7 separate regions of the Homo sapiens genome follow, and all the other regions are linked to region 6. The links are contacts of gene promoters, found by promoter capture Hi-C in blood cells and fetal thymus (Javierre and others, 2016). All regions are on one chromosome and are shown on one strand. Each heading gives the region's core, a stretch centred on a gene start or on the middle of the fragment in contact. The rest is flanking DNA. Distances are from core to core; before and after follow the strand shown. Region 1 overlaps PAK1 (p21 (RAC1) activated kinase 1). Region 2 holds the start of NARS2 (asparaginyl-tRNA synthetase 2, mitochondrial). Region 3 overlaps NARS2 (asparaginyl-tRNA synthetase 2, mitochondrial). Region 4 overlaps LOC105369400 (a long non-coding RNA gene). Region 5 overlaps B3GNT6 (UDP-GlcNAc:betaGal beta-1,3-N-acetylglucosaminyltransferase 6). Region 6 holds the start of INTS4 (integrator complex subunit 4). Region 7 has its middle 41 kb from the start of NARS2.

Region 1 (3,991 bases), core at 741-3,240, 580 kb after region 6:
GGCCACATGCCAGACCAACCAAGTCAGAATCTCTGCTGGGACTCTAGTATATTTACACATATTTAAAGCTTTCCAAGTTATTCTGGTGGACAGGGAGAATTAAAAGCCACCATACTAAACCATAAAATCATCACCTCCTTGAAGATGTGGTTCTGTTCACTGATGTGTCTATCCCCAGTGACTTGCATAAGATGCTTAAATAGTTGTTGAATGAACAAACGACTAAAAGAACTGGGAGTATTTATCTTGGAGAAGAGAAAAAGTGGAGGGGCATAATAAATTAGCCTACATACATACATAGTTGCAAGCCTTTAATGTGACTTGCCCTGGAGGACGTTGCTCCTGGAGCAGAATTAGAAATTTACAGAGAGCCACCTGGCTGAATGTGAGGAAACACTGCCTCATAGTGCTGGTGGAAAGTGAGCTCCTCATTCCTGCATGTATTTCAGAAAAGCCTGGAAGACCATCTATAAGAGGATGCTGCATGGGGTGGGAAGTCGAGTAAGATAAGTTGCTATGATTATTGCTTATTAGTTTGAAAAGCTGTGTCTAAGGCAGAGGACTGCTTCTGGCTCTCATTCACCCTGTGTAAATTGGGATGAAGGACATGGTGTGGGGTTAAAAAAAAGTCTTAAAATGACTTTGAAGCTGAATCCTCAGACTACAGCAATTCTCCGGGTGTCTATTATTGACCAATTCTTTCTTTCTTTCTTTTCTTCCTTCCTTCCTTCCTTTTCTTTCCTTTTTTTCCTTTTTCTTTTTTTGAGATGGAGTTTCGCTCTTGTTGCCCAGGCTGGAGTCCAGTGGTGCGATCTCAGCTCACTGCAACTTCCGCCTCCTGGGTTCAAGGGATTCTCCTGCCTCAGCCTCCCGAGTAGCTGGGATTACAGGTGCCTGCCACCATCCAGCTAATTTTTTGTGTTTTTAGTAGAGACGGGGTTTCACCATGTTGGCCAGGCTGGCCTTGAACTCCTGAGCATTTACCAGATGTGTGGTCTTGGAGAAGTCACTGACTTCTTTCACCATCGTATTCTGTTTTCCACCAAGTTCTGCTGCTGCTTCTTCCAAGCTGTGTCTTTAGAAAATAGGCTTGCTTCTTTTTACATTATCTTACAATATGTTAGTCTAAATCATTACTATTTTCTGTTGCCTGAACCTCTGAGAGAAGTTATTAACTTATTTCCACTCCTACCCCCTTTCTCCACTGAACAGCCAGTGATCTTTTAAAAAATGTAAGTTAGAGTTTGTCATTCTGCTTTCAAACCTTTCAAAGCCTTCCCACTGCTAAAACTTGGAACAAAAGCCTAACTCCTAATTATGACCCGAAAGAGACACCGCATAATCTGACTTCTGTCATGTCTCTTAAGAGCAGGGTTTGGGAGGGGGAAGAGTGAGGTAATACTACCTCCTAGGGAGCATTTGCAAATGTGTGAAGGTGTGTTTTATTGTTTCAGTAATTGGGAGGCACTACTAGAGGCACTACTAGTCTGGGCCGTGTTGGTAAATGTTCTATAATGTGTTGTTCAGCTCAGGTTCCATCACAATGCCTGATGCACAATAGTTGGTTAAAAAATACTTATTGTATGAGCCCTGGACATTTTCCCTGGACCTCCGTTTTGACGTATGTGAATTGGTATAGTGCCTACTTCATAAGGTTGTTTTGAGAGAGACATAACATTTATAAAGTACCTAGTACATAATAGTTCTTAATAAATGGTAGCAGTGGCTAGGTGTGGTGGCTCATGCCTGTAATCCACAGTTTGGGAGGCCAAGGGAAGAGGATTGCTTGAGAACAGGATTTGAGACCAGCCTGGGCAACATGGCAGACCCCATCTGTACAAAAAATATAAAAATAACTGGGTGTGGTGGCAGGTACCTGTAGTCCCAGCTACTTGGGAGGCTGAGGTGGGAGGATTACTTGAGCCCAGGAAGGTCAAGGCTGCAGTGAGTCAAGATCCAACCACTGCACTCCAGCCTGGGCACACAGCAAGACTCTTGTCTCAAAATAATAATAATAATAATGTAGCAGCTGCTGAGCTTTGTTTGCTTAGAGGCAGCTATAGGGGCCCACCTAGCATTCTTCCTGGAGCATTAGAATTAGAACCTGGCACGTTTGGGGAGGGGGGAGGTGTATCTCTTTCTCTGAGGCCTAATCTGAATCGTAGGTCTGACCTGAGGAATCTTAGAAGGGACTCCTCTATACTCATCTGTAGAAACTAAGGCACAGAGGAGCTCTGGTTGTCTTTCTTGACTCTGGAGCTCACACAGGACTCTGACAAGCCCTGGAAAACCTGGCCCTGGAGAGAAATTACCTCCTGCTGGAGACTGGGTGGGGAGAATAGCTGAGAGGGTGGGAAGATAGCTGTCTCCCCGCCCTCAGCTCTGCTTTGCAGAAAAGGAGAAGCGCGCGGCTTCCTCCCGCCTCCTTCCCTCCTTTCTTCCCCCGCCCCTTCTGTTTCGCCAACCCCGACGCGGCGCCTTCGCTGCCGCCCTGCGAGAGCGCGAGCGTGCTGCACCTCGGGAGCTGGCGGCTGAGCTGCCAGGAGCCCAGCCCAGCTGAATCGAGCGGAGCCGGTGGAGCAGGGGCCTTGTGGGTACCCGGTTGGGCAGGGAGAGGTGCGGCTCTGCGACGGAAACAATCGCCAGAGATGCCGGGGCTAGCCTTCCCCACCAGGTAATGCCGGCCCTGCCTGGGGCTCCCCTAGCTGGGCCGGGTTCTGGGGGATCTCCGCCGGCTTTCGGAGAGTGGTGACACGGGGTCCAGTAGATTTTGAGGGGTGTCTTACTTTCCTCTTACCTTAAGGGACCCTAAATGAGAGAAAGGGCTGAGGGTGGAACCTTTAGATGAGCCCACCCAGGGCTAGGCCTGCACTGGAATCAGAGCTCTGCCCAGGGAAGGGTGTGAAGGGGAAGCTGCGCCTTTGGGGAACCGCTCAGCCTCAGAAGCTCTGCTCCTTTGCAAGCGCCCTTCTGCTTGGTGGCCAACGTGGTGCTTTCCTCTGCCTTGGCTTAGTCGCTGGCCTGCTGGGACTGTGGGGGCTTTTCTGTGTTAAGAGGTTGAGTGAACTGGGAGGGAGGAGACCTGGGGGGACTGGTCCTATTCAGACATCCTCTGTGGCTTGAGTTGCCATATCTGTGCAGTGAAGGACTTGACATTGTTTGTTACTCTGGCTTTTCCAGACTGTCAAACCATCTTTTGGAGAGGTGAGCTGGTTTAAAGTGCTAAAATGGGCTGCAGAGATGTCCCCCTCAACACTGTAGAAGAGAGGAGAACTTGGGAAGTAGACCTTGGTATCCTGTCTTCCAGCCAGCCTTTTGAATGGCATCTTGGTGGTTCTTCAGGGACAAAGCAGAGACTGAGAATGCTGATGCTTATTTTAGTGTGATGCGTAGGTGTGTTAGGTGTAGGGAGGTAGGGTTGGGAAGTAGAAGGTCAAGGTATGTTAATGATTCTAAACTGGCCAGTTTTTCTGTCCTTAGGTATAAAGTTGCGTTAAACTAGACTCTCTTCTCTGGAGCCCCTTCCTTATTCTGCTAAGTTAATGACAGACCTGGCTGTGGTAATATCTTAATCACTATAATTCTTTCCTTCTTTATTACCTGGCACCAAGAAGCTCATGTCAGGCCCGATAATAACCTACTTTGATTATTTTGGACCTCTTTCCTCCCCCTAGTTTTTTCATGACTCTACGTCTTCCTCTCCTCACTTTTCTTTCTATTTCCTCCTCCTGATCATTTTTCCTGCCCCCTGCCTACCTTTTCTCCCGCCGTCCCCTTCACCCTTCCTCCTCCCCTCATGCTTCCCCTTTTGTATTTCTCCCCCTGTGTAGCCAGTCTTTCCTTCCCTCTCTTGGATCCTCCCCCTCTTGATTAGGCTTTCTTCTCTTTTCTAAAATTTTTGGTTAAGCTTTCTTATTATTAGTAGGTTACTGGTTTGTAGAGACCTTTTCCTGTGTTTATGAGGTCCAAACATTGTTTTCTACCTAACTCA
Region 2 (3,879 bases), core at 804-3,303, 580 kb before region 6:
TGAGCTCAGGCAGTCTGCCCACCTTGGCCTCCCAAAGTGCTAGGATTACAGGCGTGAGCCACTGCGCCTGGCCTATATATTTTTTTTGATCGATAAGAAGTGTATTCATTTATTTGCACAGTTCTGCAGGCTGTGCAAGAAGCATCGCACCAGAATCTGCTTCCACTCAAAGTAAATAATGTCAAGGTTTGTTGTCATTCAGCCATTCAGGAAGGCAAAGGGGAGCAAACATCACATGGCAAAAGAGGAAGGAAGAGAGAGGGAGGGGGGTGCCAGGCTCTTTTCAACAATCAGCTTTGCAAAAACTAATGGACTGAGAATTCACTCCTGCAAGGGTGGCACCAAGGCCTTCATGATCCAAACACTTCTCACTAGGTTCCACCTCCAACATCAAGTATTTTCAGATGAGATATTTTCTAGCCTGTCTTAAGAATGATTTTACAATTTTTCCAGGCCATTTGCCCTCCTGGCAACCTTCCGTGTTCACCTTCTGGCAGGAAATTTTCTTACATGCCTACCTGGCAAAATATTGATCCACTTCAAAAATTCAGCTTAATTTTCTCCTTCTCTAGACTATATTATATTTTATCCAACATATTTTATATTATAAGTATATAATATATAATATATCCAATATAATTTAATTATATATTATAATTTATAATTATAATTTTATTATATTTATAATTTTAATTTATTAAAAGAACCAGGGAACACATTTATATTATATAAAATATAAAATTGTGATACATGTATATATTATAATTGTATTATATTTTATCCAATATAATATTTGGATAAAATATCAAAAATAATTTTTTGGATAAATTTAAGAGGTAGCCTAATATATAAGGGTGACTTTTCAGTCCAAACAAATGCAGACAACTCATACATCTATGTGTGCACTTACTGGTTTATATTTCAGTAGTCTCTTTTCTTGCTTGTCTCCATCTCTAAAGCATGAGCTCCTTGATGGAACAGATCACCTTGGGACACTATGTAATACAGCATACTGCTTAAGTGCATAGAGCCAGCACTTCTGGGTTTAAATCTCACACTTAGGGAATGTGTATCCTTAAGTAGGTCATCTAGCCTTTCTGTGCGTAAGTTCTCTCATTTGTAAAATGGGTATAATAATAGTAGCAACTTTAAGTAAGGTAAAAGTGAGAGAGAGAGAGTGAGAGTGAGAGGGAGCGGGAGAGAGACAGCGAGGGCGAGCGCTGGTCTTGAACTCCTGGGCTGAAGCAATCCTCCTGCTTCTGCCTCCCTAAGAGTTGGGATTACAGGCGTGAGCCACCGCACTTGGCCAAACGTTTTACTTTTTAAATTAGATTAAAAACCTTTTAATGACCGTCATTGAGTTACAGAATTTTTTTTTTAATAAAACGTAGCCTAATATATAAAAGGGTCATTGTTTCCAGGTCAAACAAATGCAGATAGCTGTGTTGGAGGGCAGAGGGAAGAGGGAGACTTGGAGGATTCTGGCAGGAAACACTCGAGTTTCCTCCAGTCTCTGCAACATCTTCCCACCGTCTTGCCTGCCATATGCAAGGTCCCTCCAGTTCCTTTTATTTACCTGTCAGAGGACTACTTTCTCCAGGAAGCCATCTCTGGCGTCCCACGCTTAGGCTCTGTCAGGCAAACTGATCGCCCTTTTATGCAACTGTCTGTTTAGCTGTCTGATACCACACAACTGTGACTTGCGCATTGGGGCTATGTCTGATTTTTCTCTGCGGAGTACTCAGGAAAGGAACGACTGATCTCTTCAAGCGAATCCTGTTAACAGCTAAGAGCCTCCTCTTACTTGGATCCCTATTGTTGACTGATGGAGACGGTTTCCCTCTCCATCAGTCACTCCTTGCCTCTCAGTTTCTCAGCCTCACCTGGAAACTTTAGAAATGAAGACCCTCAGATGTGCTCCCACGTTCTTTCAGCGATAATCTCTACAACCTTAGGGCATTAGCTCCGCCCCGTCTCGGCTCCTGACCCCGCCCCCTCCCGCACGCCTCCCTAAGCCTGGGTCACAAGTACGCATGCTCTCCCTTCTTCCCCGTAGCGTGATGACGTAAGCGGCGTTGGCGTGGTGTGGTAGGAGTGGTTGCGCGTGTTGCGGCCCGGGTTCTGTTCGTAGGTTTACAATTGTCGCGGGTAGTGGGGCGCCCCAGCTGCCAACTGCACGTGGTTTCTTTCTGGCGTTTGCCTAGTGTCCTGTCCATTCCGCCCCGTTGGGAAGTGGGAAGCGGAGAGGTTCTGTGGGGACAGAGCTGGGAGTCCTGAAGGAGAAAGCGCGCAGCCGAGGGGCTCTGGAGTGCCTTAGAGCAGAGCTGCGGCCGCGGAAGGGGAGCAGCTGAGAAAGGAGGGCCGCTGCAGGCGGGGTTCGAACCGTGGGGTCTGGGCTGCTCCCGCGGAGGGCCTGGGCGGACGCGGGATGCTGGGGGTCCGCTGCCTGCTGCGGTCCGTGCGCTTCTGTTCCTCCGCCCCCTTCCCCAAGCACAAACCTTCAGCCAAACTGAGCGTGCGGGACGCTCTCGGGGCTCAGAACGCGAGTGGGGAGCGCATTAAGATCCAGGTTGGTGAATGGGAAGGGAGTGGGTTTTTTCTTGTAGGGACTTTTATATGGCACATCCACATCTAGCTTTTCTTTTACAGTCGGGTCAGACACAACCGCCAGCAGGGAAAAGTTAGAAAGTGTAGGCGTCGCGGGTTTGCACTTTTCTGATTTCCATTACTTTTCACAAAACTGTTCCGATAACTGTAAAGCGCTGGAACTTTGCTTTCATGATTCCAGGGTATTACCTGTAAACTTGTTAATCATACCAAAAGTGTAAATGAACAAGCCCCCTTTCTCTATCTTTATCCCTTATAATGAATATCCAGGTTTATAAAGTGGTTGTCTTGACCTCCCTCCTTGAGAGCAGAAACCGTGTCTTACCTGCCTTTGTATTCACACATGGCTGACAGCAAATACTTGTTCAAACCATGCCTTTTAAACTTTTAGCGACCTCAGTGCCTATTGTGGGGGTCTGCATGTAATTTATTTTTAATGAATTCGGAGAAAGACTGGAATGTAGCAGTTTGAAAGAGCTCTGGAGTTAAGCTGCTTAGGTTTAAATCTCTGCATAGCGTTTATGCGTTCTACACCTTATTTTCCTCTTATGGAAAGAGATAATAATTGTCCCTGAGTCCTGAAAATTAAATGAGGTAATGGAAGTAAGATATTTAGAACAGTGGCTCATAGTCTACAAATGTTAGCTGCTATTGTTTCTCTTGCTGATTATATTATTTGCAGCAGCTCCACATAGAAGAGGTGCAGAATAAACAAGGTGTTTGACTGTTTCTTATTAGGTTGCTGAAGTACACTGATGTGGTTATTTATTTTTTGAGACAGGGTCTAGCTCTGTCACCCAGACTGGAGCGCAGTGATGTGATCTCAGATGACTACAACCTCCATCTCCCAGGCTCAAGCAATCCTCCTGCCTCGGCCTCCAGAGTAGCTGAAACTATAGGCATGCACCACCACACTCTATAATTTTTTAAGTTTTTTGTGAAGATGAGTCTCACTGTATTGCCCAGGCTGGTCTCAAACTCCTGGACTCAAGCAGTCCTCCTCCTTCGGCATCCCAAAATGCTGGGATTACAGGCATAAGCCTGGTAGATGTTGTTATAATAAATACTTATTTTTTGAGTAGGTTCTTGCTTTGTCACCCATGATTGTACTGACACAGTCATGGCTTGCCGTTGCAGTGATTTCTGTTGTCCTCACATATCCTTTACTTTTTAGCGGTATGACCAATCTGCTCCTCTTTGAGTTCCATATTCTTTCCATAGGTCTGTTGGTCTATTGATTGGGTATACATTAATGATACTTTGTGTGCTAGT
Region 3 (4,065 bases), core at 676-3,175, 550 kb before region 6:
AAAAATGATGTGAATCCCTTTTGGATAATCTTTGGATAGCATCAAAATCGTGACTTTTATATGAGTATGCTTTATAATGGCTTATTCTTTTTTTTTGACACGTAGTTTTGCTCTGTTGCCCAGGCTAGAGTGCAGTGGCACCATCTCAGCCCACTGCAACCTCTGCCTCCTGGGTTCAAGCAGTTCTTGTGCCTCAGCCTCCCTAGTGGCTGGGATTACAGGCACCCACCACCGTACTTGGCTAACTTACTCTTGATTACCACAGCCAGAGGTAAAGGGCAACCAAGCCCTTCTGTTCCAGTTATCAATAACTTAACTTCCTCCTTGCAGCAACTGCAAGAAAGTATATTTTGTGGGGGGGTTTGTTTTGACCCAAGGTCTCGCTCTGTCGCCCTGTTGGGAGTGCAGTGATGAGCCAGCGATCATGGCTGTCTGCAGCCTTGACCTCCTGAGCTCAAGTGATCCACCCACTCCAGCCTCTAGAGTTACTAAAACTACAGGTGCGCACCACCACACCCAGCTAATTTTTAAAGTAGAGTCAGGGTCTCACTATGTTGCTCAGGCTGGTCTTGAACTCCTGGTCTCAAGCAATCCTCCTGCCTCCACCCCACCGAAGTGCTGGGATTTATAAGTATTTATTGAGTACCTGCTGTGTTTAGTGGTAGTCAAGTCCTTTGTGTGGATACGTGGTTTGGAGACTTAACTCTGGAGCATAGGTATCCCTTCTCACAGAAGTCCTAGTTAACGGACTAGGACCATATCTTATCATATTCATCCTTAAAGCCCCAATCTGACAATGAATAAGCCAAAATTAATATTTTTCAAGCAATAGTGAAAAAAAGTTTGGTTCATTTTTCACCGACCCCTTTACATTTAGGAATAAGTTTGCTGTTTTGCAATTTTACATTTGTGTTTATCTCCTGTAAAAGAAAAATAAGGCAGCATTGTATATTCACTTTCTGTTTTGCCTCAACCTTACCCTCTAATATTAGACTCCACGCGTCTTTTCTTGATTCATTCTTTCTCAGACTGCTCAGCAGGAAAACACTGTTTACAAACAGTCTGACTTAATAACTTCCTTTCCTGCTGATCAAATAGTTGTTTAAATGAAACCTTTCTCAGGGCTGAGTGGGTGTTCTAGTTAGTGGGTGTTCTGGAATGTAAATGAACCCTTATTTTAAGAAAGATTATTTTTATACTAGCAGTTCTGTGTACACCAAGATACACATTTGTAGCAAGTGGAAAGTATGGAAACATAAACTGGACTTATTGGAAATTTTTAGATTAGTGAAAGACCTACATATATGGCTTGTTAATAGGCAAATCCCAAAACTAACATAACCGGCAAAATAGAATGCAGTTTATTGAGCCTGTTTCCCTTGGCTTTGGTTTTTACGTATGAGATGCAGTCTAATGGCATGCAGAACAATTTCTGCAGCAATGATAGCAACTGCATTTGAGATACAGCTTGATAGGGATCATGAAACTACCAACCCACAAATCTTTGGAGACTGTATGACAGATTTAGTTCCTATGATTGATTGCTTGGTTGGTTGATTGATTTTAGAGGCAGAGTCTTACTCTCTCACCTAGGCTGGAGTGCAGTGGTATGATCATAACTCATTGACCTCAAACTCCTGGACTCAAGTGATCCTCCTGCCTCAGCCTCCCGAGTAGCTGGAATTACAGGCACCCTCCACTACACCTGGCTTGTTTTATGTTATATGATCAGCATTTCATACTTAGGAGAGACTAATATTAAAAGCATTTTAATCCAAAGCTTTATTTCAACACTACAGGATAAAAAATGCGAGAGCTGGGCACAGTGGTATATGCCTGTAGTCCCATCGGAAGGCAGAGGTGAGAGGATCACTTGAGCCCAGGAGTTCAAGACCAGCCTGGGCGACATAGCAAGACCTTATCTCAAAAAAAAAAAAAAAGTGACATGACTTATTGGAAAGGTGATTGTACTAGAAGCTGAGAAACCTGGATTCTACAACTGATCTTACCAAAAAGTAGTTGTATATAACATTTATTCTAACATTTGACATTTAACATTTTTAAGCTTTAGCATCTTTTACAAGAGGGAAGTTGAATTAAAATTTTTTTTTTTGAGATGGAGTTTCACTGTTGTCACTCAGGCTGGAGTACAATAGTACTAGTTTCAGCTCACAACAACCTCTGCCTCCCAGAGTCAAGCAATTCTCATGACTGAGCCTCCCAAGTAGCTGGGAATACAGGCGTGCGCCACCACGCCTGGCTAATTTTTGTATTTTTAGTAGAGATGGGGTTTCACCATGTTGACCAGGCTGGTCTCGAACTCCTGACCTCAGGTGATGCGCCTACCTTGGCCTCCCAAAGTGCTGGGATTACAGGCGTGAAAAAATTAAAGTTTTATCTAACTTAGATTTTTTTATTCTTTACTATCTGTATCGTGAAAGGCATAGCCTCCCTCTAATCTCTTAATTGGGATCAAGAAAGAAAATAGGATATTCAGTGGTTATATGGAGCTTACAGATGGTGAGTACTCTCCCTTTTCTTCATGATCTTCAAAGGAAATTGCAGATTGAGGTAAACAGGACAATAGCATGCCATTATGATTTTAAACCTTTTAAATTTCTGAACCATGCTTCATCTTTATGTATTCTCTTCCCAACTTTTTGTCTCTGGGATTATGAGTAAATAGAACTGGGTAAAAGGTGGGGGTAGGGTACAAAGTAGAAAATGGAAAAAGTAAAAGGAGATAAAAATAGATTGGGTGTTTCAGTGATTGTAGAGGTCAAATAAGTTTTCCATTGTTGATTATATTCCTTTCCACTGTTCAGCTTACTGCTATTTACTCTCGCTCCTTGCTATATATTTTACATGGAGACAGAGTCGGACTTGTGTGGGTTTTTCTATTTAATTCTCCTGAGATTGTGAAACTGCTCAGCTAAATTTGTTCTGCTGTGAGAACAAATAACTGGAGGGCAATTCAAAATACTTGTTTAATATTTTCTTGGAAATCCTCAAAGAAACAGGGAGGATTTTAGATCCGTGTGGTAAGAAATTCACTGGGATACACACATTAAAAAAATTTTTTTGGTAGCTCTTGGTTTCCCCTTTCTTGGCTGTGCTATTTACTGTCTTCCAGTGGCAGAATAACCTAGCAAAAATTTTTGTTTTGCATAATAGAGAAAGGCTAGGTTAAGTTTTATTGCACTAACGTAAGTTTTATATGATCAGGGAAAGGTTAGTCTATCATGGACTGTTTAGGATGGGAGGTAATCATCCTTTATATTGATTTTCAAACATTTTTGTTCAAAAGTGTTTTCCAAACAAAATCTTATACCAAGACCCTCTATAGAAGATAGATAAAAGGAATGACTTTGTTTATCAGATAGCTCAAATCCACGTGGTTTTGTTGATAGACTATATGAATGCCTTAACAGAGCATTGGGAACTTGGGAGATTGCAGGAAAAGGCTTAGTTACGCAGGACTTTGTATATATTGCAGGACATGTTGGACTCCTGCCCACTAAATGCTCTACAGACTCCTGAAGTATTTTCTAGGGAACACTATCATCATCAATGAGAAGCACTAATCTGTAATCTCTCCCCTGGCGATTTTATTCACTTCCAAGGCTTTATGTACCATACCATCTACATACTGACTGCCAAACTGTTTATCTGCAGTCCCAAACTGTTTATCTCCAGGTTCTGTTTCTGAGCTCCAGATTTGTAGAAGCATCTGCCTACTTGACATTTCTCCTTTGATGTCTAATATGCATTCAAACATAGTATGTATTAAATAAACCTCTTGATTTTTTCCTCCAAAGCCTTTTCCTCTTCTTTTTTTATCTCAGTGAAAGTTACCATCTACTCATTTGCTTAAGTAAAAAATCTAGATGTCAGACTTAATTCATACCTCCCCTGCCTGTCTCCCCAAACCTCACATCTAATTTATCCGTCCTTTGTTGGCTCATCTTTAACATAAATCCTCAACCTCTCCATTTCTCTGTTTCCAATGTTACCAGTTTAATTCAAGCTACTCTTCTTGTCTTCTGATTGGTGCCCCTACTTCTA
Region 4 (4,117 bases), core at 47-2,546, 930 kb after region 6:
AAGAAGACATTGGAAAAGAAAAACCATGAGAGAAAACTAGACTTGCCAGACATTAAAAAAAAAATTAAAAAAAAGCTTCTGTAATTAAAACTGGGATGGTTCTGGTACATGAATAGATAAATTGGAATAGACTAGAAAATCTAGGATTAGACCCAAAACATCTTTACCCCACTAATTTGAGATGTTGCCTTTGCTACACACTAAACATAGACTTTGCAATAGATAATGCCGGGACAACTGGGAGCCATTTGGAAAAAGATAAAATTAAATCCATATGTTACACTGTCATATTTTGTGTTGTGTTGCTGCAAAGGAATACCTGAGACTGGGTGATTTATAAAGAAAAAAGGTTTATTTGGCCCATAATTCTGATGGTTGGAAAGTTCAAGACTGGGCATCTGGTGAGGGCCTCAGGCTGCTTCCACTCATGGTGGAAGGTGAAGGAGAGCTGATGTGAGCAGATATCACATGGCAAGAGGAGAAGCAAGAGAGAGGGGAGAGGGTGCCAGAATCTTTCAACAAGCAGCTCTCCCAGGAACTAAGAGAGTGAGAAGTCACTCACCCCCAGGGAAGGCATTAATCTATTCATGAGGGACCACCTCCATGAGCCAAACACCTCCCATCAGGCCCCACTCCAACCCTAGAAATCACATTTGAACATGAGCCTCGGAGGGGACAAACATCTAAACCATAGCACACATCCAACAAAAGAATAAACTGAATGGATTAGGGATCTAAGTGTAAAAAACAAAGCCACCTGTCTTAGTCAGCTCGGGCTGCTATAACAAAATACCACAAACCACCAAATCCAATGGTAAAGTGAGGGGAAAGGCACCAACAGGTAACTAACCAAAAAAGATATTAAAATGGCCCTCAAACTTATGAAAAAAATATTCAAGGACACTGGTAATTAGAGCGAGGCAAATCGCTCTACAGTGAGATGCCATTTTTCACTTTTCAGACTGACAATAAAAAAGATCACAACACATTCTGTTCACCAAGTTGTAGGGAAACAGTCACTCACAGCTGTTGCTGGTGGGAATACAATTTGGTACAATTTGGTACAATTCTAGGGGAATTGGTAATACCTAAGAAAATTACATACGCATGTACCCTTTAACCCGAGGCAACTCCACTTCTCGGAATCTACTCAGAACCCATACCTCTGGCAGTATGGAAATACACATGCAAAGCCTTTTTCAGTGACGCGTTCTTTTTAATTGCAAATATTGGAAACAATCTACATACCCACAAGTGGGAGAGTGGTTGAATAAATTGTAGTATATCCAAGCAATGGAGCATTAAGCAGCTGTAAAAGAAAATGAGGAGGAGCACATTGAATTGATAGTGTGAATCCCAGAACACACATGGAGAGAGAAGACAATATAAGAACATACACAGGTGTCTGCTCATCTATGCAGAGAAGTACAAGAAGGAAAGATCAGAAACTGGTGCGATTGGCTACCTACAGGGACAGGTGGAAAGGAGTGGAAAGAACTGTTGAATGGGATAGGATGGCAGGGAAGAGCAGGGAGTGACACTTCTCTGACTATATCTTTTTAATTTTTCTTATTGAGATATCATTTACATGCCATAAAATTCATCCTTTAAAGTATAAAATGCAGTAGTTTTTAGTATATTTACAAAACTGTGCAACCATCACCACTATCTAATTTCAGATTGGGAGTCCTTTCCAGTAACATCTCCACAAGGCACTGCTTGTGGAGATTTGGAAACACTACTGGTCCATTGGATAGAGGAAGCACGCTCCCCATTGGATTCTTCTTTATAATTGGATGGAGGGCTCTAATACAGAGAAACTGGATGCTCTGCTAATCTAGAGGTCGGGATTTTCACCACCCCAATAGAAACCTCATACCCAAGCATTCTCCATTTCCCCCTCCCCTTATCCCCTTATCCCCTGGCAACCTCAAATCCTATCTCAATGGATTTGGCTATTGCAGGTATTTCATATACTGAAATCATACAATATGTGGCCTTTTGAGTCTGGCTTCTTTCTTTCTTTTCTTTTCTTTTTTTTTGCGGGGGGACAGGGTCTCACTCTGTTGCTCAGGTTGGAGTGCAGTCACGTGATGACAGCTCACTGCAGCCTCAAACTCCTGGGCTCAAGCAATCCTCCTGCCTCAGCCTCCTGAATAGGTGGGACTACAGGTGTGTGCCAATGTGCCCAGCTAACTTTTTAATTTTTGTAGAGACAGAGTCATACTCTGTTGCCTAGGCTCATCTCCAGCTCCTGGTCTCAAGTGATCCTCCTGCCTTGGCCTTCCAAAGTCTAGCTTCTTTCACTTAGCATAATGTTTGCAAGGTCCATCTATGTTGTAGCATGGATCTGTACTTCATTCTTTTTTAGGGCTGGATAATATTCCATTGTATGAATATACCACATTTTGTTTATTCATTCATCTGTTGACAGACATTTGGGATTTTTCCACTCTTTGGCTACTGTGAATAATGCTTTGAATATTCATGTGCAAGGTTTTTTTTGAGACAAGCTTTCACTCTGTGGCCCAGGCTGGAGTGCAGTGGTGTGATCACGGCTCATTGCAGCCTCGACTTCTCAGGCTCAACTGATTCTCACACCTCAGCCTCCCTAATAGCTGGGACTACAGGCATGCATCCCCATGCCCGGCTAATTTTTATTTTTATTTTTTTGTGGAGATGGAGTCTCACTGTGTAACCCAGGCTGCATGTGCAAGATTTGGAGTGGACATCTGTCTTCAGCTCTCTCGGGTATATGTCTGGGAGTGGACTTCCTGGGTCATAGGGTAACTCCATGTTTAACTTTTTGAGGAACTGCCAGACTGTTTTCCCAAGTGCTAGGAGTGTCCACCTAAATCCTCCTGCCAGGCCCTGCAAGCTCCTGATGTAGCCCCGCGACCCTGGGAGTGAGAAAATCCCGCCCAAGACCCCAGCCAGTGGAGAGAACTGGAGCCAAGCCGGCACCTGGGGCTGCTGCCTGCATATTGCCAAAGAGGGGCCTGTGGGTCCCCAGGGTCCCTGGATTCTCCAGCGTCCTACAGGCCAGCAGCAGCTGGCAGGGTTCAAGAGTAAGGGTGGGCAGGAGGGGTGCCTGCGTCCTCCCTGTGCAATCTGGGGCCCAGAGGCAGCGGCACCTGCCCCCACCCTGCCCCTAGGCTGATATGTGTACATCTGCCCCCACTCCCCAGCTGATGGAGCTCTGACTGATTCTGCTCTGGGTTCCCAGTTCTAAAACTGCCTTCGCAAAAATTATAACAGTGAGAAAATTATGCCAGTAAAAGAGATCTGACCTAACTGACTCCACCTTGCTTCTAACCTCCCAGCTACCCTTGTTCATTTTGGGGTGTAAGAACTAATTTTGGGAGATAGTTATAGTTTAACTTTGAAACAAAGGTAACAATAGCCCTTTCCCAAAAGAAACTTCCTTTTGCCTGGGGACCAGACTGCCTTTGTAGGACTAATAAATTAGCCACAAGATTAGAAATTATGGTTTAGAAGTCAGCTGGGAGCGGTGGCTCCTGCCAGTAATGCCAGCACTTTGGATGGCTGAAGTAGGTGGACTGCTTGAGGGCATGAGTTTGAAACCACCCTGGCCAACATGGTGTAACCCTGTCTCTGCTAAAAATACAAAAAGCACCCAAGCGTGTTGCCACACGCCTGTAGTCCCAGCTACTCAGGAGGCTGAGGCAGGAGAATCACTTGAACCCAGGAGGTGGAGGTTGCAGTGAGCCAAGATCATGCCACTGCATTCCAGCCTGGGCAACAGAGCAAGACCCTGTCTCAAAAAAAAAAAGAAAAAGAAATTTATGGTTTAGGAGACATGTAGCCAGAGGCTACAAGATTCTACACCTCCCCAGTTACTCCTAGGGATAACATCACTATTGTAAAACCTAAGACTGGTGCTGAAAATATTTTTCAGCCCCTGCACTCGATGGATCAGGCATCACCCAAATGGATAAACTGGCTCATCATGTCTTGTGGCCCCCACCCAGAGACTGACTCAGTGCTAAAGGATGGCTTTGACTCACTGTGATTTCATCTCTAACCCAATCAATAATCACTCCCTACTCTCTTGCCCCCTACCCACCAAATTATTCTTAAAAAACCCCATTCTCCA
Region 5 (3,851 bases), core at 1,283-3,782, 950 kb after region 6:
GGGGTTTCACTGTGTTAGCCAGGATGGTCTCTATCTCCTGACCTCGTGATCTGCCCGCCTCAGCCTCCCAAAGTGCTGGGATTACAGGCGTGAGTCACCACACCCGGCCCCCCGGAATTCTTACGTTGAAATCCTAGCCCTGAAGGTGACGTGGTGATGATGTGATGATGGCAGAACCCTCACCAATGGAATCTGGGCCGCTGTAAAAGAGGCCGTGGGAGCTTGCTTGCCCCTCCCACCATGCAGTGACACAGCAAGAAGGCAGTGAGGAATGGGCCCTCGCCAGACACCAAACCTGCTGGGACCTTGACCTTAGACTTCCCAGCCTCCAGAACTTTCAGAAATGTTTGTAAGACACCCAGTTTATGGTATTTTTGTTACAGCAGCCTGAACAGACTAAAACACTAGCAGGGCAAGGCTGCTGTAACAGTAGACAAACCCCAGAAGCTGAAAAATCATAAAAGTTTTTGTCTATATTGTTCTGTCCATAATTTTTTTTAAAAGCATAAAAGTTTATTTTGTCTTCCTCAGTAGTCTGAACTGAGTATTCCAGGTTGGTCCCCGGGCTGCTCTGCTCCGTGCAGGAACTCAGGAATCCTCGTTTCTCTGCCTTCCTCTAGGCCAGCGGTTCTCTGCTAGGGTGAATTTTCCCACCAGGGTATGTTTGGCAACGTCTGGAGATACTTTGGGTGTCATGACTTGGGCTGTGATACTGGTATCTAGTGAGTGGAGGACATGGATGCTGCTGAATGTTTTACAATGCACGGGACTGCCCCCCACAACAAAGAACCGTCCTGCCCCAAATGTCAGTAGTTGAGAAACTTCCACTTGGGCCTGAAGCATTGTCCTCACTTGCAAAGTCAGAGCTGGGTCCCAGGCCCATCCATGTTCCAGCGAATGGGAAGGAGGAAGAGAGCATAAGCAGGCCCAGGTGCCACAGTGATCCTCATCCACTCCCGTCCATCCATGAGGGCCTAGTCACAGGGCCACATCTAACTTCAGGGGACGGAGTGCTGGGAAATGGAGTCTAGGTGAGTGCCCAGGAGGAAGGGAACAGCCGACTCAGGTGGGCAGCTGGCAGCTTCCCCGACAGGCGTCCTAACTGGTGCAAGAGACATGCAGGATGGAGGTGGTTGGAGGACATTTCGGTAACTAGGTCAGAGCTTGTGCAAAATGCAGAGACAAGAGAGAGCCTGACAAAGCGCAGGCACTGCCACCTGGATGGAGGCTGACAGTGGGAGGGAGGGATCAGTGAGCAGCAGGCGGGTGGCAGGAGCCTGAAATGCAGGACTGAGGAGTCTAGTCTTCGTCCTGAAGGCAGGGAAGGACCTTTGGCCAGTCTCCTGACGTTCTGCCCCGGCTCTTTCCTCCCTGAAGGTGAGTCCCTCGTGTCCATCTTACATAGTTGGGACCTTGCTGACACACACTTCTGCCTGCCTTTAGGCCGTTTCCTTGATTTTCTATGTTGCCAAGATGACTGGCAGCTGCTGGAGGTCAGGACCACAGCCTGGTTCTCAGAGCCCCAGGCACCAAGTTCCCACCCACCCTTGCAAACTCTCCTTTTTTTTTTTTTTTTTGAGATGCAGTCTTGCTCTGTCGCCCAGGCTGGAGTGCAGTGGCACGATCTCGGCTCACTGCAACCTCCGCCTCCCAGGTTCAAGTGATTCTCCTGCCTCAGCCTCCCAAATAGCTGAGATTACAGGCACGAGCCACTATGGCCGGCTAATTTTTGTACTCCCAATAGAGACGGGGTTTCACCATATTGGCCAGGCTGGTCTCGAACTCTTGACCTCATGATCCGACCTCCTCAGCCTCCCAAAGTGCTGGGATTACAGGCGTGAGCCACCTCGCCCGGCCCCACAATCTTAACCACTGTCCACTTCGGTCTCAGATCCCCCACCTCCCGAACACAATTCTACACACCTGCCTCCACAGGCTCCCCAACACTGGCCTCCATGTTCCCACCAGCCTTTCTCCACTTCGGACTCCCCGGAACTCCCTGCTGGGTTGTCCAAGGCCCACTGAGCCTGAGGCCCAGACCCCGGCAAGGAGCCTGTCTCTGACCCGTGGGGGTGATTATTGGCGGGCAGGACCCAACTAGGCCATTAGCTTTGGTTGGGGTGAGTGTGGAGGGGACCACAGTGGTGTGCTGTCTGGGAATGCCACGGCCCTGGATTAGTCACTGTCTGACCGGGCCTCTGGTTTCCACTTTGCACGGTGAAGATTTCTACCTCACGGTGTACTGGGGTAGTGGTGGGAAGAAGGCCACCACATGCGCCTCAGCTGCGTGTTGGCTGACTTCTTGGGGGAGGGGGAAGCGGGATCCACCTGATACTGTCAGCCCAGCTCCAGCTCCACTCACTTGTAAACAGTGGAAATCACAACTGACATTTGTAGGCACATGGCAGGGGGCGCTGATCCTGGCTCCCACGCTCCCAGGTCTCCCTTGCTCCACTGCTCAAGAGGACCCGAGTGTGGGAGCGAGGGGCCCGGAATTCTTGCAGAGAGGGCGGTGGAGCTGGCTTTGCGAGGATGAAGAGATAGTCTAGCCGAGTGGTCCTCAGGCCTAGCTGCACATTCGCATCACTGGAGGAACTTAAAAAATACTTAACATGTCTGGGTCCACCCCAGACTAATCAAATCGAAACTTCGGGAGATGGAGCCAGGATGTAGGCATTTTCCACACCCCCCACCCCAGCTGATTTCAGTGCGCAGCTGGGGTTCAGGTGCACAGAGCTGGGCAGGACGTAAGGTACCCAGAGCGGGAAAGCTGCCTTCTCAGCATGGACATGGTTGGAGGCCCGGGGCTGAAGCCGCCCAACTGGCCTCAGGAGACCCGGTGTCCCCGGTCACAGCTGAGCGCGGGGCTGTGCAGCGCCTTCCACATGAGCAGCATCTCGTAGGGCGCGAAGCGGTGCACTAGCAGCAACTCGCGGTACATGCAGGGGTCGAAGGAGGACTGCTGTGCGCCAGGCAGCTGCACGCCGAAGGGTCGGATGCCCTCGTGGCCGCTGGGCGCCAGGCCGGCGCGCTCCAGACACATGCCCATGTAGGCGTCGTCGATGGGGAAGAGCGGGGTGTGGCGGGCGGCCGCGCGCAGGGCCCGGGCCGTGGGGCCGGACAGGAGGAAGCCGCCGCCGCTGCAGTACACCGGGTAAGCGGACCCGGGGAAGAGCTGCGGCGGCACGAAGTACTTGCTCCAGCTGTCGCGGATGGGCACGGAGCCCTCCATGAGCTGGCCGGAGAACAGGTGGCGGCCGGGTGGCTGCGCCTGCAGGAAGCGGACTACGTTGGCGGTGTGCACGAACACGTCGTCGTCGCCGCTGAGCAGAAAGCGCGCGTGCGGGCAGCGTGCAGCCAGCCAGTCGAGCAAGTGCAGGTGCTTGAGCGTGAGGTTGAGGAAGGTGTCCGCGAAGGCCCACTGCAGCACGTCGCCGTGCTCGCGCGCCTCCAGCGCCACCAGCTCCGCCAGCCGCTCCGCGCGCGCCTCGTCCTCGGGGCCCGGGGTGCCCAATAGAAAGAGGCGGCGCACTGGCCGCCCGCCGTAGCTGCGCTCTTGCCCCCACGTGCGCCGGATGAGCTCGCGTCGCTCGTAGTGCTCAGGCGCCGACTTCACCGCCAGGAGCAGGAACACGCCTCGGCCGCCGGCGCACTTGGCCGGTGCGTCCCAAAGCAGCGGGAAGTGGCGGCAGTGGCGGTACCGCAGGAAGTCCTGGATGCGCGCGGGCAGCTGCTCGAAGTCGGCCGTGGCGTTCGCCGAGGCGTTCGCCACGCACGGGGGCCCGGGGACGAGCTCCGAGGGCGGCTCGTCAGCCGCGGGAGCGTCGGTGGGACCCTCTGGCGTCTCCTCC
Region 6 (4,191 bases), core at 761-3,260:
TTTTTTTTTCTTGAGACAGAGTCTCGCTCTGTTGCTCAGGCTGGAGTACAGAGGCCCGATCTCGGCGCACTGCAGCCGCTGCCACCTGGGTTCAAACGATTCTCCTGCTTCAGCCTCCCGTGTAGCTAGGATTACAGTCACCCACCCCGACGCCCGGCTAGTTTTTGTATTTTTAGGAGAGACGGGGTTTCACCATGTTGGCCAGGCTGGTCTCGAACTCCCGACCTCAGGTGATCCGCCTGCCTCGGCCTCCCAAAGTGTTGGGATTATAGGGGTGAGCCACCGCGCCCAGCCTTTTTTTTTTTTTTTTTTTTTTTTGGAGACAGGGTCTCACTCCGTTGCCCAGGCTGGAGTGCAGTGGCTGGATCTCGGCTCACTGCAACCTCCACATCCCAGGCCCAAGCGATTTTCCCGCCTCAGCCTCCAGAGTAGCTGGGACTTCAGGCGTGGGCCACCATCATGCCCAGCTAAATTTTGTATTTTTAAAGTAGATTTCGCCATGTTGCCCAGGCTGGTCTCAAAACTTCTGAACTAGGTGATCTGCCCGCCTCGGCCTCTCAAAGTGCTGGGATTATAGGCGTGAGCCACCACTCCCAGTTTCCTCTAATTTTAGGAAAGCCTTCCCTGAGGCACTCTGAAGAAATTAGGTCTGTTTGAACCACATTCATTCCCGTTACCCAGCACATTTCAGTTGCACTGTCACCATCAGTTTGGGTGTCTGTCTTCTCAGATTGTAGGACCTTGAGGATAAATACTATCTTTTGTTTATTTTTGGGTCCTCTGTATCCACCTCAGCCTCCTGCTTTTTTTTTTTTAAACTATCCCACATTAATTCTTTTTTTTTTTTTTTGATAACGGAGTCTCGCTCAGTCGCCCAGGCTGGAGTGCAGTGGCGCGATCTCGGCTCACTGCAACCTCCGCTTCCCATGTTCAAGTGATTCTTCTGCCTCAACCTCCCAAGAAACTGGGATTACAGGCGTGTGCCACCATGCCCCGACTAATTTTTGTATTTTTAGTAGAGACGGGGTTTCCCCATGTTGGCCAGGCTGGTCTCGAACTCCTGACCTCAAGTGATCCATCCGCCTCGGCCTGCCAAAGTATTGGGATTACAGGCATGAGCCACCGCGCCTGGCCCACATTCTTTTGAAAGACCAAAATAATGAACAGCTAGTTTCATGTAGGTTGTAAAACTTGACCTTGGATTTACTGACACTAACATGTGCACTACACCTTACAGTCCGTAAAATGTTCCTGCATTATTTCACTCCATTGTCACATCTTTGTCAGGTTAGTTATTATAAATGCATTTGTAGTTGAGCCATTTGCTCAAGAACCAGAGCTGTAGTCTGTAGCTTTGTTGCTTTATCCTTGGTCTCAGAAGTCTTCTACTGTACTATAGCTATCAGAGCAGGGATTGATGCCTTAAAGGATGGCAGCTTTTGCAAAACTGGAATAAGGAAGTATGGAAAGGCACCCCAAAACAAGAGAGGTGGCGCACAGCTTGAACAAAGGCAGTGCTCAGGAAACCTACAAACAGCATCGTGTACAGCAAAGGATGATGGGAAAGTCAGCCGAGCCTCTGAGTTTTTTCACGAGTCGTAAACCCCTTACAGAGCTCCGGGTTTTGCCTCTAGCTCTGGAGCACCCCGCCTCTGCCCTTTAACCTGTACTTCCTCCCTCCCTCCCTTCGCGCCGCGCCGCGCTAGTCTCTTAGCCACTCCGAGGCCACCAACCAGCCTCCCAAAGCTCCCATTGGGTTGCCCACCCTTTCAGTCTCAGCTCCTCCCGCCAGAGGCCCCGCCTCCCACAAGCGAAGCTCTTATTTCCGTTCTTCCGGCGTAGGCCGCCAAATCAGTCCGTACAGTGGCGAGGCAGTCGAGCAACAGGAAGCGGTCGCTCTTTCCCCAAATCCCACTGCCTTGTGGGATCTCGGCAAGTCATCCACCCACCCCCCGCGCCTACGCAAGTTTTCCGGATCCGTCCACCCCCGCCTCCCTCCTAGTGTACGGAAGCTGAGAGGGCCCGCGGGTAGGCATGGCGGCGCACCTTAAGAAGCGGGTTTATGAGGAATTCACGAAAGTGGTTCAGGTAAGCTCTGGCGGGAAAGATCCAGAACCGATCCGGACCAGGGTAGATTATCCAAATCCCAGGCACTTTGCCGGAACAGAAGAGGCTCCATACGCCCGTGTTAAGTGCTGACTTGTTGATAATCTCTGATATTGCAAGTTAGTGGGCGTGTTAGTTTGCAGCCGCTGTTGTCATTAATATGTGAAGTCTGACAGGATTTTAAAAAAATTATTAGGAGAAACAGTGTTTTTTAATTTACGAAACTGTCTTATCCGTTATTTCATTTTATTCTCTCACACAACTTTGCTCCATCGCGTTACATTAGCATCCTCGTTTTCCAGATGTGGACATTGAGCCTTCCGGAGGGGTACGAGGATACAGCCAGTTAGCAGCAGAGCCCCTTCTAGCCTCCCCGCACCCCCGTTCCAAAAAAAAACCTCCCAGGGACCAGTTGGAATATACACAAGGTTCTAAGGGGCTGAAAGAAGGGTCTATAGAATTCCTTCAGGCGCAGTCTAAGCAGGCGGGGGTCACAGACTTCATAGGGGAAGAGCTCTCTATTGGTAGAACAGCTCACCTAGGAAGGAGGGCAGTACCTTCCTCACCATGAAGTTGTGACAGGTGGGCAGAGTCCCTGTCGGGAGTCAGTGATGCTCCATGTGTCTCCACGTAGATGTTGCTAGGGTTGATCCTAAATCATCCTGATGTCCTATTTCTCAGATATTAATGTGTATACAAATTACCTGGGGACGTTGTTCAAATGTCGATTCTATTTGATAAGTCAAGCAGAGGAGGTGAGGCAAGATTCTGCATTCCTGACATGCCCCCAAATTTACACCAGTGCATTGGTTGCATTCTTAGATCCTTAGACTTGTAGAGTGGCAAGGCTTAGAGCATCCAGCAGGATACTGATCCTTAAACATTACATGGATTCATTCATCCAGCATTAAAATATGTTAATACAAATACAAAATATGTCAATACATAATATAAAATTTACAATTTTAACAATTTTAAGTATAAAGTTCAGTGGCATTAAGAACATTAGCACTGTTGCACAATGTGATTTCCTCTCTTCCCAACATTCTGTTGTTCCCATTTCCCAAGACTGCTCAGCCCTCTTCCACCCATCCTCACATGACCAGATATGCCATGTGTTCTTGTGTTTGCATATCTCAAAACTCTTGCACTGGTTGTCTCTTCTCACAGAATACATGCCATTCTTCCCTTTCTTTTTGTTCTCCACCCAGTGGACTTAACATTTGTGCTTCAAGACCCAAATGAAACCTCAGCGAGAGCTTAGTCTCTTCTTCACCTGTTTCTGTAGCATTCTGTGGTACTAATCTATTTGTACTTTTTGTTCAGTGCTGCTGTCATTACCGGTGTACCTATCTTCCCACCAGTCGGAGGTCCTTGATGGCAGAGCTAATGCCTGGCTCATCTCCGTGTCCTGGAGATGGACAATAGGGCCTGGCTCACTAAAGTGTTATTGGTGGTTGAATGACAGTTGATATTGCTTGTCCTCTCCCTTATATAATACTTAGGGAAAAAATTCCTAGCTTTTGACCTAACTACAGCTTCGATAAGACTGAAAACTGAGTTTGAGAGGACTAGGATAGAAATGGCTAAGAATTTTAAGGGAAGAGCTAATTTCTTCACTTAATTTTTCATCAGTTGTTAACATAAAGTGATTAAATGAGATCTTAGTGCTTCTGTTCTTTTTTCTCCGCTGAAAAGATGAGGAGGGAGAACTGATATGTGCCTAGCACTTACATATACGTATAATAAAGTTATGTTTAATAACAGATTTATCGACTAGCTCTGTGATAATAAAGTATTGGTATGCCCTCCTATAGAAGAAGGCCTTCCCCAGCTAGTAAGTTGTAATTGAATACAAATTCCTCTGACTCCAAAGTCCTTATTCTTTTTATCATGTCATACTGTGTTCTTGTCTAGAATAATTCTACTCTCTTTTCTATAGAAATGTGAATTTGTAAGGAGGTGATTGCTCAGTACATAAAAACGCACCATTAGGTGGTAAGGAAATTTATTTTATTTTATTATTATTTTTTAACAGAGACAGGATTTCACCATGTTGCCCAGGCTGGTCTCGAACTCCTGGGC
Region 7 (3,965 bases), core at 978-3,477, 620 kb before region 6:
TTTTGGTAGAGACAAGATCTCCCTATGTTGCCCAGGCTGGTTTCAAACTCCTGGACCCAAGTAATTCTCCCACCTTGGTCCCCTGAGTACTGGGATTATAGGTGTGAGCCACTGTGCCTGGACAAATTACATGGTTTTTACTAAACTCTTTTGATTTCATACTTAGTTTTCTTTCTTATGTTGAAAACCTTGATTTCAAAACACAACATAATTACTTATTTGCTTTATTCTACAATAAACTTAGAGTTTCAAAATGACGATAAGACTACTGAATATCATTTAAGATTTTTATAGCTTTTTTTGTTCTTGTTGTATCAAAACAAAATTGCATCACTTGAAGAAATTTTGTATTGTTAAGGACTGGTATGATTTTTTCTTCATTTAATCTTTTCTTAAGCATGTAAAACATTTACATGGTTTCAAAGTCAAAACTATATAACCTAAATTTACAGAAATCTCACTACTATGCCTATCTTCTACATGCTGTTCTCTCTCTCTTCACATGGAACACCTTAATAGATTTTGGTTTGCTATTTTATTTTATTCTATTTTATTTTATTTTGCAAAAATTGGCATACTAAACCTTGTTTTGTACCTTAATTTTTCCCCCACCTAACAATATATTCTAGAAATCACTCTATATCAATACACAGTGATCTTTTCATCAGTTTTCACGGCTTCCTAGTACTTCATTGTGTGGTTGTACCATCATTTCTTCAACTAGTCCCCTATTAACAAACATTTGAGATATCCCCAATCATTTGTTATTATAAATTAAATCACAATGAAATGCATAAGTTGTATTTTATTTTTGTTGATAATATCTTTGGAATCACACTTCTGGAATCACACTTCCATACTTCTGGAAGTAAGATTGCTGAGTCAAAAGGTAAATGAGGCCAAGCTTGGTGGCTCATGTCTGTGGTCTTAGCACTTTGTGGGGTCAAGGTGGGAGGATCACTTGGGGCCAGAGGTTCAGGACCAGCCTGGGGGCCTTGGTGACCCTGTCTCTAAACAACAATAAAAAAGTAAATGAATTTTGCTAGTATGTTGCCAAATTCCATTCCAAAGTTGTGTCATTCACAATTCTCCCAGAAATGTGTTAGAGTGCCAGAGTGCCTAATTCCCATACAGCCTTCCCAATAGACTATGTTGTCAAAATTCTGGATGTTTACCAATCTGATAAATGAAAACTGATAAATCAACAACATAAGCAAGTTTTAATTTGTATATCTCATGACTGAGGTTAAGCAAGTTTTCACATATGGAAAAGCTTTTGTTTCTGTAAAATGTATGTTTCTATCTTTTGTCCACTTTTCTAAATAATTGTCCTTTTTTCTCAATTTTTAAAATATTTAGGCCTTTATTTGTCGTTTGAGTAGCAAATATTTTCCTAGTTGTCATTTGTCTTTTAACTTTGTTTGCAATGAGTTTTGCTGTGCAAAGGAATTTTTAATATACAAATTATCAATATTTTCTTTCGTTTCTTCTCAATTTTGAGTCACATGAAAATTATCTCACTGAAGTTGTTAATGTGGTAGGAATGCTTAAGCAAACTGTAATTGGCAAATCACTGGAGGCTCCCTGTGTACTAGTTTGAGAGTTAAAACTCTGGGGGCTCAATTTTAGGGAGATCCCCACACTTTTATGAGTTTGTCCTTAGGAACCCCACCAGGTTCTCAGAGAAAAATCCTTTCACGCTTCCACCAGGGGGAGGAAAAAGCAATGATTGTGAAATACACCTACAGCATTCTGTTCTTCTTAACAAAAGCCTTCCCTCAGGGAAATTATTTTCCAGAGCCTTACCTACCCAGAGAATGAAAAATACCCAATTCCAAAACCTTCTAGCCTTCTTGCCCTACCTAAGGGAGGAAAAAGAGCTGAGAAGCACTTGGGAAGGTTATAGCCCTAGGACATAGGCTCAATAAAAGACTAGCAGAATAAGACATAACATTAGAATTATAGAATGCTTCCTCTGTTGTGATGGTTAATATTGAGTGTCAACTTCATTGGATTGAAAGATACAAAGTATTGTTCCTGGGTGTGTCTGTGAGAGTATTGCCAAAGGAGATTAACATTTGAGTGGGTGGACTGGGAGAAGCAGATCCACCCTCAATCTGGATAGGCACCATCTAATCAGCTGCCAGCATGGCTAGGATAAAAGCAGGTAGAAGAAGAATATGGAAGGACTTGACTTTACTGAATCTTCCGGCCTTCCTCTTTCTCCTGTGCTGGATACTTCCTGTCCCTGAACATCGGACTCCAAGTTCTTCAGCTTTTGGACTCTTGGACTTATACCAGTGGTTTGCCAGGGGATCTCGGGCCTTCAGCCACAACTGAAGGTTGCACTGTTGGCTTCCCTACTTTTGAGGTTTTGGGACTTGGACTAGCTTCCTTGCTCCTCAACTTGCAGACCGCCTATTACGGGACTCACCTTGTGATCGTGTGAGTCAATACTCCTTAATAAACTCCCCTTCATACATATATCTATTCTATTAATGCTGACCCTCTAGAGAATCCTAATATACCTCTCCTTACCACCACATCAGTCAGGCTCCTACATAATAACAGGGGATTACAACTGAAATAACTTCAAGGCTCAGGCTGGCTTTGGAAGGAGTCTCTAAAGAAATCCAAAGACAGGCTGGGTACGGTGGCTCATGCCTATAATCCCAGCACTTTGGGAGGCTGAGGCAGGTGGATCACCTGAGGTCAGGAGTTCGAGACTAGCCTGGCCAACATGGCAAAACCCTATCTCTACTAAAAATACAAAAATTATCTGGGCGTGGTGGCGCATGACTGTAACCCCAACTACTTGGGAGGCTGAGTCAGGAGAATTGCTTGAACCCAGGAGGCGGAAGTTGCATTGCGCCAGTGCACTCCAGCCTGAGCAACAGAGTAAGACTCTGTCTCAAAGAAAAAAAAAAGAAAAGAAGGAAAAAAATCCAAAGACAACAGGGAGACAGAAACAAGGACATTAGAGCAAGTTTTAGCCTCTGACACCTACAGCTATGGCAAATAGTAAACCTAACCTAGCTTTTAGCCAGATAAACACAAAACCTCACGATACAAGCCTATTTAACTCAGTTTCTTTTAGTCAATACATCATGTCCAGCTTTGAACAAAAATGGCAAGGCATGCTAGAAAGCAGAAACATAGTCTAAGAGCTAGAACAAGCTTCAGAACCAGACTCAGGTATGACACAAAATTTGGAACTATCAGACAAGAAACTTGAAAGAACTATAATTAATATGCTAAGAGCGCTAATGAAAATGTTACCAACATGTAAAACAGATGGTTATGTAAGCAGAGAAATGGGAACTCTAAAAATAATTCAAAAGGAATCTTTAAAATCAAAAAAATATATAACAGAAATGAAGAATGCCTTTGATGGCTTCACCAGTAGACTGGACACAGATGAGGAAATAATCAATGAACTTAAAGATATGTCAATAAAAACCCCAAAATGAAAAGCAAATTGGAAGCAAGTGGAGGGGGGGAGGAATAGAATGTAATAGCCAAGAAATGTGGGGCAATGACAAATGGTATAACATACATGTAAAGGGAATATCAGAAGGAGAAGAAAGGAACAAAATAATTACTCCAAATGACTAAGAATTTTCCAGAATAATGATAGACACCATACCACAGATCCAAGAAGCCCAGAAAACACCAAGCAGGATATATATCAAGACATTTACACACAGGCATATTATATTGAAACTGCAGAAAATCAAAGACAAAAAGAAAAAAAATTGAGACAGGGTCTCACTGTTTCACTTGGTCACCCAGGTTTAAGTACAGTGGCACAATCATAGTTCACTGCAGCCTCGGCCTCCTGGGCTCAAGCAATACTCACACCTCAGCTTCCCAAGTAGCTGGGACTACAGGTGCATGCCACCATGCCGGGCTAACTTTGTTATTATTATCTGTAATGACGAGATCTTGCTTTGTTGCCCAGGCTG

The links. Contacts are between HindIII fragments. The CHiCAGO score rates a contact against its expected background, and 5 or more counts as called.
Region 1: a contact is called between a fragment that was not itself captured here and the fragment with the promoter of INTS4 in region 6, in 1 of 17 cell types (non-activated CD4 T cells). The highest score is 5.8, in non-activated CD4 T cells.
Region 2: the fragment with the promoter of NARS2 here is called in contact with the fragment with the promoter of INTS4 in region 6 in 16 of 17 cell types (neutrophils, fetal thymus, activated CD4 T cells and 13 more); the score reaches 31.8 in neutrophils.
Region 3: a fragment that was not itself captured here is called in contact with the fragment with the promoter of INTS4 in region 6 in 2 of 17 cell types (naive B cells and total B cells); the score reaches 7.1 in naive B cells.
Region 4: a contact is called between a fragment that was not itself captured here and the fragment with the promoter of INTS4 in region 6, in 1 of 17 cell types (naive CD8 T cells). The highest score is 6.1, in naive CD8 T cells.
Region 5: a contact is called between a fragment that was not itself captured here and the fragment with the promoter of INTS4 in region 6, in 1 of 17 cell types (naive CD4 T cells). The highest score is 5.7, in naive CD4 T cells.
Region 7: a fragment that was not itself captured here is called in contact with the fragment with the promoter of INTS4 in region 6 in 1 of 17 cell types (neutrophils); the score reaches 5.3 in neutrophils.

The regions. Positions count from the first base shown.
Region 1 is chr11:77,410,457-77,414,447 of GRCh38, reverse strand. The region is part of intron 1 of PAK1 (p21 (RAC1) activated kinase 1); the gene reads left to right. Among named protein-coding and RNA genes, the nearest start is that of PAK1, 62 kb to the left of the region's middle. RefSeq lists an enhancer at 2,810-2,929. The HindIII fragment of the contact is 3,839 bases long and covers 71-3,909 here.
Region 2 is chr11:78,573,038-78,576,916 of GRCh38, reverse strand. It overlaps NARS2 (asparaginyl-tRNA synthetase 2, mitochondrial), which reads left to right and starts at 2,053. Exons shown (of 14, transcript NM_024678.6): 1 at 2,053-2,569. The coding sequence starts at 2,429. RefSeq lists enhancers at 1,758-1,897, 2,558-2,667. The HindIII fragment of the contact is 10,208 bases long and covers 1-3,879 here.
Region 3 is chr11:78,539,209-78,543,273 of GRCh38, reverse strand. All of the region lies in intron 5 of NARS2 (asparaginyl-tRNA synthetase 2, mitochondrial), which reads left to right. All of the region lies in intron 1 of NARS2-AS1 (NARS2 antisense RNA 1), which reads right to left. Among named protein-coding and RNA genes, the nearest start is that of NARS2-AS1, 8.1 kb to the right of the region's middle. The HindIII fragment of the contact is 285 bases long and covers 1,783-2,067 here.
Region 4 is chr11:77,057,093-77,061,209 of GRCh38, reverse strand. It overlaps LOC105369400 (a long non-coding RNA gene), which reads left to right. Exons shown (of 3, transcript XR_950341.1): 2 at 1,680-1,843; 3 at 2,680-2,809. Among named protein-coding and RNA genes, the nearest start is that of CAPN5, 7.8 kb to the left of the region's middle. The HindIII fragment of the contact is 2,438 bases long and covers 78-2,515 here.
Region 5 is chr11:77,039,683-77,043,533 of GRCh38, reverse strand. It overlaps B3GNT6 (UDP-GlcNAc:betaGal beta-1,3-N-acetylglucosaminyltransferase 6), which reads right to left. Exons shown (of 2, transcript NM_138706.5): 2 at 1,561-3,851. The coding sequence ends at 2,828. Among named protein-coding and RNA genes, the nearest start is that of ACER3-AS1, 5.9 kb to the right of the region's middle. The HindIII fragment of the contact is 8,137 bases long and covers 1-3,851 here.
Region 6 is chr11:77,992,487-77,996,677 of GRCh38, reverse strand. It overlaps INTS4 (integrator complex subunit 4), which reads left to right and starts at 2,010. Exons shown (of 23, transcript NM_033547.4): 1 at 2,010-2,088. The coding sequence starts at 2,035. RefSeq lists a silencer at 1,626-1,695 and an enhancer at 1,896-2,095. The HindIII fragment of the contact is 5,814 bases long and covers 1-4,191 here.
Region 7 is chr11:78,613,682-78,617,646 of GRCh38, reverse strand. No RefSeq gene overlaps it. Among named protein-coding and RNA genes, the nearest start is that of NARS2, 41 kb to the right of the region's middle. The HindIII fragment of the contact is 1,904 bases long and covers 1,276-3,179 here.